Linked DNA regions of Homo sapiens: all the other regions are linked to region 3. The links are contacts of gene promoters, found by promoter capture Hi-C in blood cells and fetal thymus (Javierre and others, 2016). All regions are on one chromosome and are shown on one strand. Each heading gives the region's core, a stretch centred on a gene start or on the middle of the fragment in contact. The rest is flanking DNA. Distances are from core to core; before and after follow the strand shown. Region 1 holds the start of CARMIL2 (capping protein regulator and myosin 1 linker 2). Region 2 holds the start of HSD11B2 (hydroxysteroid 11-beta dehydrogenase 2). Region 3 holds the start of PDP2 (pyruvate dehydrogenase phosphatase catalytic subunit 2).

Region 1 (2,700 bases), core at 140-2,639, 760 kb before region 3:
TGCCTTCACCCTTACCACAGGGGCTGCAGGGGTCAGTGGACTCCGAGGGGCTGCTTCTCTCCAGCCGAGCCAGCATGGAGGCTGGTGTGGGCCTCCGGAATAGCTTCCTGGTAGGGGGTTAAGGAGAAGGGGGCAAAGGACTTCCAGCCTCTGGGATGGGAAGCAGCCCTTCTCATGCACTCCCTCCTCCCCTGCCAGCCCCTCGAATTTGCCAGGCCTCACCCAAGGGTCGAGCGAGGGAAGACCTTCTTGATGGCTGCAGCCACGTGCTGGGCCAGCTGTTCCAGGGCGGCCACACCAGGAAACTCCAGGACCAGCTCACGCAGGGACTCCAGCTCAAAGGTGACCTAGGGAAGGGGCACTACTAGGCCTCGGCTCCACACATGGGCGCAGGTGATGGTGGTAGCATGAAGACCAGGCTGCAGGCCCAGGTAGGGTACTAGGTGTCTCACCTGAGGGGGTGTCTCCTGCAGCGCCATGGCCTGGACCTCCAGGTAGCTGAACGTGCAGTCCACCTAGAAAGGGCCTAGATCAGCTGGGACCAAGCCCCCAGCCCCGCCCTCATGGAAGTCCAGTCCTTTGGGCAGCCTGGGGCAGAGCCAGATCTGCCTGGACTCCCCTCCTGTCGGCTGCCCAGAGCCCAGTGCTGGTGCAAAGTCAGGGCCCACAAGGCCAAGAAGGACCACTCTGCAGATGCAGCCCCCTGCCAAGGTAGCTGCTGGCGGGCGGGGGTGTGGCCAGGCCCTGGGACTCACCCTCAGCGGGAGGCAGGTGGTGTGCAGCAGGTAGGCTCTCCATCGTAGCAGTGCCTGGGGAAAGACAGTCTGATATCCTGGGCAGAGCAAGAGGCTCTTTCTGTGGGGCCACAGCCGCCTCCCCGGCTCTGTCCCCTGCCCCATACCAGGACATGGTTTTGCACAGCACCCTCCCCGGGTAGCCAGGTTTTCAGCAGCAGCTCCACCTCTTTGGGCCACAGGAACCTGGTGATCTCGCCTGTGGAAGGGCAGCCTGCTGGGTGACTTCAGTCCTTGCACAGAAGCCACTGGTGCCCACAGTCTGTGCCAGGCTGGGGCCCTGGGGCTTATCTGCGGCCAGCGAGGAAGGAGGGGAGAGGATCTGGGGCGCCTGCCCTCCTGGGGAGCAGGGAGGACCTCTGACCAGGCCCTCTGGGGCGCTGGGTGGGCCTCTGATTTTGGGGCTGCACTACTTCCTCCCGGCCAAGAAGGCAGGAAGGGCCAGCGCTTACCTCGGAGCTCACAGGAGATGCCGTCGGGGGTCTGGGCCATGGGCCGGGCGGGCCGGGGAGGCCCAACGAGCTCCGGCGGGAAACAGCAGAGGACGAGCGCGCACACAGGAAGCCTGGGGCCCAGACCCGCACGGCAGCCACCTGCTCCTCCGGCGGCGGAAGGTGCGCGCCGCTTCCTGCCAGGCCGCCCCCGGCCCGGCCCCTCCCCGCCCCGGCCTCGCGGCTCGAGAGCTTGCCCGGGAGCGGGGTTGTGGGAGGGGGGCCGAGTCCCACCTGCCCGCCCGCCCCGTCGCCCAGGAGCTTCTCCGCCAGGGTAGACGTCGGGGTGGGCAGTGGCGTGGCCGGGAGGGTCGCGGGTGTGGCGGGCCTCCAGCGGGTCCTTGCCCCCGGCTTCCACCCCGCCCCGCAGTCCCTGCCGCGAACACCAGGGGACGCTGCCTGCCTGGGGATCCCCGCGGCCCACCGGGGCTGGTCCCCTCCAAAGCCCAGGCTGCGGAGGTGGACGAGGCGCCTGGCAGAAGGGGGACTGTTCAGCAAGGAGCGCCCGAATTCTGCCAACACCGGAGGTCCTGCCCGTTGCTCCGAACCTGGAGTCCGTGACCCTGTTAGGGATCCAAGAGATTTTGAATGGGTGGGAAAAAATGTCAGATGGGGCCAGGCGCGGTGGCTCACGCCTGTAATCCCAGCACTTTGGAAGGCCGAGGAAGGAGGAACGCTTGAGCCAAAGAGTTCGAGACCAAGCTGGGCAACATAGGGAGACCCTGTCTCTGCAAAATAATTTACAAAATTAGACGGCGTGATGGCGTGTGTCTGTAATCCTAGCTACTTGGGAGGCTGAGGTGGGAGGATCACTTGAGCTTGGGAGGCAGAGTTTGCAGTGAGCGGAGATCGCACCACTGTACTCCAGCCTGGGTGACAAAGCCAGGTCCTGTCTAAAAAAAAAAAAAAAAAACAGCCTGATGGGTCCAGACGCCCTTCCTTGCCGCAGAGGTGGGGTCAGGGCCGAAGGTGAGGGTGTACCCGGAGCCTTCGGGGGGAAGCCTGGGGCTAAGGTGAGCCCTGAACCCCAAGCACTTCATAGAGGGCCGGAGTGAGTCGTCCAGGTACATGAGGGTCTTCTTGTGTCTGCCTTCTCCCCAGGCTGGAGAGAGTTTGGGAGGGGGCAGCCAGAGAGAGAGAAATAAGCCAGTGTCTCCAGGGCTGAGAGGGGTCAGACAGTCATAGGGTGGGGCCTGGTAGCCTGTTGCCCTCTCAAAGACCAGGACCTAGATTCTGGAAAGTTCACAGGAAGAGACTGCATTTTTTTTCTTCTATTACAATCTAAACTCCACTTAAGCGGTAAGGAACAGCAGTCTACCCTGCCCATAGCTCAGCAAGGTGGAGGTGAAATGACAGCTAAGGGTGACAAGGAGGAGTCAGCTGCAGAAGATGCAGCACAGAGAGTTCCTGCTGCC
Region 2 (2,700 bases), core at 53-2,552, 550 kb before region 3:
GCCCCAGCAAAGGCCCAGCGCAAGGACAAAGCCTGGAGCACCTGTCCAAAGCCGTGGGTATTGGCGAGAGACCAGGCTGCTCCTCCCACGATGCAATGGAGTCAGTGCCCCCTGGCCTTTCTCCCCCTCCCCACTTCCGGCGGGCCTCCAGCCCCCCCCCCCCTTCCCCTTCCCTCCCTCTGGTGACAGATTTATTCCCTGCTCCAGACAAAGGAGCTCAGCTAGGCGGCCAGAGGCACCTGAGCCCAGCTCTCTAAGAGCTCCTTCCTGGGCACAGAGGACCAGGAGGGCTTGGGGGTGGGGTGCTGGGTGTAGGCTCCAAACTACTGCCTCAGCAGTTTGGCAGTGGGTGGCTAGACAGAAAGACAGCTGAATGTCCAGCTGCCCCTCACGGTGACCTCTAGCTTTTCTGAACTCCAAGGATCCCAGCCAGTGGGGGATGGGTGGGGTGGGGAAGTTCCCCATCTAAGCTCTTCCCTCTGGCCCGAGGAATGGGAGATGGGTATCTTAGGTGGGGATGTCAGGCAGAGTTCAAGGGGTAACGATCCTCCCTTCTCAAGGCCTCCGAAGTCCCCTGAGACTGCTCTCTTGGGGAAGGGAATGGCATAAACTCTCAAACTCCAGGAGGTTCCCTCTTCTCAGCCACCAGTCAGTTTCCTTCTCGAACCGGCCCACTCCCTGTCTCACTTTCCCTCCAACACTCCCCGCAGCGGCAGGTAGTGAACCCGGGCTTGGGGAGGTGCCCGGCGCTCCCTATTTGGCTCGCTCCCTGCACCCAGGGGTGGAGAACTCTCCCACTCTTGCGCTGAGGAGCCCGCCTTGGCTGTGCCCATGGGGAGTCAGTCCTGTTGAGTGTCCAGTCCCGCCCTCGAGCCTGGAGTCCCCGCGCTCCGCGACCCGCGCACTCACCGGTGATGAGCACCGCGCGAGTGGCCACCGGCAGGCGCTGCGGGCGCGCCAGGCGGGACAACGCGATCCAGCCGGCGGCGGCCAGCACGGCGAGTGCGGCCGGCGGGGGCAGCAGGCGCTGGCACAGCCAGTCGAGCGCGGCCAGCAGCGCCAGCGCCGCCAGCAGCGGGCGGCCCAGACGCAGGTCTGAGCGCAGCAGCTGCAGCAGCGCGCGGGCAGCCACGAGCAGCCAGGCGCCGCCCGACGGCCAAGGCCAGCGCTCCATGGCGGCCCAGCGGGCTGGGGCGGGGCGGGGCGGGGGCCGGGCCGGGGAGCGGGGAGAGAGAGCTTCTAGGCCGGGGCGCGGAGTGCGGGGGTACACCGGCCTGGGGCGCGAGAGGGACACTCGCTTTCTCTGCTCGCCCTCGGGCCGAGCTTATGAAGAGCCCCGGGGGCGGGGGAGAGGGCGGGGAGCGGGAGGGGCGGGGGCGGGGCTTTCCTTCACTTCTCTCCCGGCACCCCCCGCAGGGCAGGTGCTCCCCCCCCGCCCCGCCCCCTCGACCAGATTCGATTTGGAAAAAGCCGGAACAAAGTCCCAAAGTTGCTGCGCTCGAGGAGCCGCCTGGCTGCGGGCGGTGCTTGGGAGAGGGCCCGTCGGTCCAGCCCGGGTGCCCGGCCTCAGCTCTCCGCCGCGCCCCCACCCACACGCCCGGGGCCGCCAAGCCGCCGCGCTCAGGTGAGCACATGCCACTCACGCTTGTTCGGGACACCTGAGGACACGCACAACCGGCATCCCGGTGCCCTTTGCTGATCGCACCACCGCGGCCGCCAAGCCTGCAGGAACACCGCGAGGAACCAGCCGGTGCTCACCCGGTCTCCGCTGCCGCTGCCGCTGCCGCCCGCGCCCGTACACGCGCCGCACTCCCACGTGGTCGGCTGCGCCAGGTCCCTGGCGCACACACCCTAAGGCGCGCTCACCCCTGAGCAGCTCGCGGCCACAAAACCTGCCTGGGACAGGGGCTGGCGGGGGAACAGGACGACCGCTCCCGGTTCTTGGAGTCTCTGCCCCGTCTTTCCCTTTCCTTCCAGGGCTTAAACCTGGGGACGCACAACCCCACTTCCTGCCTCACAAATGTATGTGTGTGGGGGTCAGTGGAGGGTGGGGTGTCAGAGGAAGCACCTAGGTCTCCCATTACTTATGGCCCACCCCCGCCAACCCCAAGAGCCAGGCCAGAGGGACGTCGGTGAAGGCAGCCTCTAGGACAGGGTGGTCCCTGCCTTGCTCCCCTGAACCCCCAGGGGGTAAAATAAGTGGTATGAGTGTGGGTGGATTTTTCTGCCTGCGTGTGTGAAGGTCTCCATGCTTGTGTGTGGCCCAGTGGCCCCCCACCCTGCCCACCCCCGTGTCTGGCACCCTGTGCCTAGCATCCATGCCAGGGCTCTGCCAGGCACTGGGAGTTGGTGCCAGTACCTGGCTGCAGGCTTGATGCTGAGAGCAGTAGGTGTAGCCCTCGACAGAGGGGTCCCTGCTTCCCGTGGGCTTCCAGGCCGTGCTCAGTGCCTCATCCCTGCCCTCCCAAGATCCTGGGAGGTTGTGGACTCCCTGTCACACTTCCTAGCCCTGTTGCTCATTCTCTCTTAGGTGCCCAGGCTCTGCCAGGGTTTCAGGGCAATGCCTCCTCCAAAGCCCTCTCTGCCACCAGACACAGCCCCCTGGTGAGCCAGGGAAATCTCAGGGGAGGCTGGGAGCCAGACCCACCTAAAGGGAGAGTCTCTGGGTGGAGGACCAATTTGCCCTGAGCCACTCCTGTG
Region 3 (2,955 bases), core at 24-2,523:
GATCGCTTGAGCCCAAGATTTCAAGACTGCAGTGAGCTATGATCACACCACTGCACTCCAGCCTGGGCGACAGAGCCAGATCTGTCTCTTTAAAAACAACAACAACAACAAAACCCCACCAAACTGTACTGCTTTATGCAGTAACCTTTTCTCTACTTAGGTTTTATCCTAGTTATTTCCCAAACAAGGAGTCAGTAGGTCCAAGGGTGTAGACTCATTGCCAAACTGATTTCCAAAAGCTTCACATCTGCCTCCTCAAGGGGGTGACGAGTTTCCTAGTCCCTTCACTAGCCCTGGTGGTACTTTTCCTTGGAATATAATAAATTAAATTAAATTAAATTAAATTAAATTAAATTAAAAAAAAAAAAACAGAACAAAACCTTGACCCATTATAATGAGCTTTTCATGTATGAATCCTGCCCTCGGGATCTCGAGATCATTTGTCGGGACCTCAAGAGTTCCCAGGACTGAGGACCGTCCCTTCACTCCCCCACCCCCTGCCAGCCCACCCCGCAGAAGTCGGTGCGGGGGCGGTCTGTCCGGGAGCAGAGGGCGCCTGACGCTCCGGCCCTGCAGTCAAGGCAGGCAGCGGTGCAGGGTGATACACCGCAGCCAGGACGCAAACCCTCTTGCATCCTTAAAGAAAACAGACAGGTCCCAAGTTCAAATCTCTGACTTCAGCCTCATCGCTAAGTGCATGGACTCCGGAGCCCACCAAAACCGATCTCCCTAGAACCCCGGCACGGCCGTACCCCAGCTGGGTGCCCCCGGGCGACCCGCTTGGTGCCTCTGAGCCCCGGCTTGCCAGCCTGTAAAACAGGGGCGTGCAGTCGGGACACAGAGCTCCAAGGGGTGCTCGATAGGCCAGAGCAGCTAGTGGGGTGCCCCGGTAGGCAGCCAAGGGTCCTCGGCGAGCCCGCGGGCCCACGTGGCGCGCGCACGTGAGTGGGGTGACCGTGGTCGTAGGCCCAGCTGGTCCCTCTCCGCCGCGGACCCGCCCCCTCACCTCAGCTCTCCCTCCGCCCAGTCACCTGAGCCGGTGCCGCAGGCCGGGAGGGTCAGGCGCCGGCGAGGCCTGGCGGGGAAAGAGGTGTCCACATCCCCCGCTCGTTACCTTCCCTACCTCGGACCCTCGCCCGCTTCTCACCAGCTGGCGAGGCCACAGCCGCCCGCTCCGTCCGGTCAGTTCAGCGCCTGCGCACAGTGCCACAACTGCGGCCACCAGGTCCTCACCTCACCCAGGCGGTCCCTAGTCAGGACCCAGCTCCAGAAGGAAGCGCCCTCCCGCCAGCCCTGGTTGGCTCAATTGCGGAGGCGGGCCCTTGATGGACAGAGGTATTGCCCAATGGCTAAAGAGGATGAGAGGCGGGCAGAAAGGCGGGACCCGGGAGGGGGCAACACCGCCCCTTACCCCCTGCCTGGGTGCTGAAAGTGTTCGAGCGCGGGGCCACAGGACCAGGCAGTCACGTGCCTGAGATCGCCAGCTACGTGGCCGCTACACTCTGCATACCCCGAACCCAGCGGCCTCCCCAATTCCTCACCGTTGTTAGAACACCTCACTGCTTCCTCTCCACTTCGGTGTCGACCACTCCAGAACCCTCTCTTGAGCGCCACACCCTGATGTCCAGCCACCTGGACACCTGCCTCTGGAGGCCCCCAGGCGCCTCAAACATAACTTACCCCAAACTCAGCTTTCTGCCAAACTTGCTTTTTCTCTTCTCTCCTAACCCAGTAATGGCCCCACCATCTGCCCAGAGACCCAAGCCAAAACCCTGGGAGGCATCTTGACTCCTTCCTCTCCCTCACCCTCTCTTTCCAGTTATCTAATGCTGTAAATCCTATCTCCTAAATCTCTCTCCACTCATCCATCCGGCGACGCAGCCACCCTATTCCAAGCCTCTCACTTGATTTTACGGTTTTCCCTCCTCCACCTTTGACTTGGTCCTAACCACAGAGCAGAGCAGCCAGAATGACGCCCCTCCCACCTTTTCTCGTGGTTGGTGGGTAGAGACAAGGTCTTTCTATGTTGCCCAGGCTGGTCTCAAACTGCCGGGCTCAAGCAATCCTCCCACCTCAGCCTCCCCAAAGTGCTGGGATTACAGACGTGAGCCATCACGCCTGGCAGAATGACACTTCTAAAACTCAAATTCCAAGGCCGAGTGCGGTGGCTCCTGCCTGTAATCCCAGCACTTTGGGAGGCCGAGGCGGGGGGATCTCCTGAGGTCAGGAGTTTGAGACCAGCCTGGCCAACATCACGAAACCGTCTCTACTAAAAATACAAAAATTAGCTGGGAGTGGTGGTGCGCGCCTGTAGTCCCAGCTACCTGGGAGGCTGAGGCATGAGAATCATTTGAACCAGGGAGGTGGAAGTTGCACTGAGGTGAGATCATGCCACTGCACGCCAGCCTGGGAGACAGAGTGAGAGTCTGTCTCAAAAAAAACAAAAACAGAAACAAAAACAAACCAAAAAAACCCTCAAATTCCTGCCCTAAAGTCTTTTTTTTTTTTTTTTTTTTTTTTTTTTGAGACGGAGTCTCGCTCTGTCGCCCAGGCTGGAGTGCAGTGGCGGGATCTCGGCTCACTGCAAGCTCCGCCTCCCGGGTTCACGCCATTCCCCTGCCTCAGCCTCCCAAGTAGCTGGGACTACAGGCGCCCGCCACTACGCCCGGCTAATTTTTTGTATTTTTAGTAGAGACGGGGTTTCACCGTTTTAGCCGGGATGGTCTCGATCTCCTGACCTCGTGATCCGCCCGCCTCCGCCTCCCAAAGTGCTGGGATTACAGGCGTGAGCCACCGCGCCCGGCCTCCTGCCCTAAAGTCTTTAGTGGTTTCCCACAAACCATTAAGCTTTGAACTGACCATTATATTGGCCTGCTACTGACAATTAACTCAGCACGGCTGGCGGCTGGTAGGTTGAGAGAGACAGCGAACCCCGACACCAGATAATCCCTCCGT

What was found. The method cuts DNA at HindIII sites, captures the fragments that hold promoters and counts their contacts. A CHiCAGO score of 5 or more calls a contact.
Region 1: a contact is called between the fragment with the promoter of CARMIL2 here and the fragment with the promoter of PDP2 in region 3, in 1 of 17 cell types (M0 macrophages). The highest score is 5.3, in M0 macrophages.
Region 2: a contact is called between the fragment with the promoter of HSD11B2 here and the fragment with the promoter of PDP2 in region 3, in 6 of 17 cell types (total CD4 T cells, naive CD8 T cells, erythroblasts and 3 more). The highest score is 7.3, in total CD4 T cells.

The regions. Positions count from the first base shown.
Region 1 is chr16:67,643,833-67,646,532 of GRCh38, reverse strand. It overlaps CARMIL2 (capping protein regulator and myosin 1 linker 2), which reads right to left and starts at 1,389. Exons shown (of 38, transcript NM_001013838.3): 1 at 1,247-1,389; 2 at 902-993; 3 at 756-809; 4 at 453-515; 5 at 223-347; 6 at 16-107. The coding sequence starts at 1,286. RefSeq lists a silencer at 1,306-1,695. The HindIII fragment of the contact is 10,344 bases long and covers 1-2,700 here.
Region 2 is chr16:67,429,723-67,432,422 of GRCh38, reverse strand. HSD11B2 (hydroxysteroid 11-beta dehydrogenase 2) reads right to left here and starts at 1,302. Exons shown (of 5, transcript NM_000196.4): 1 at 910-1,302. The coding sequence starts at 1,174. RefSeq lists silencers at 1,184-1,363, 1,584-1,633. The HindIII fragment of the contact is 16,145 bases long and covers 1-2,700 here.
Region 3 is chr16:66,878,833-66,881,787 of GRCh38, reverse strand. It overlaps PDP2 (pyruvate dehydrogenase phosphatase catalytic subunit 2), which reads right to left and starts at 1,273. Exons shown (of 2, transcript NM_020786.4): 1 at 1,148-1,273. RefSeq lists a silencer at 820-999 and enhancers at 459-1,231, 1,480-1,559. The HindIII fragment of the contact is 2,608 bases long and covers 242-2,849 here.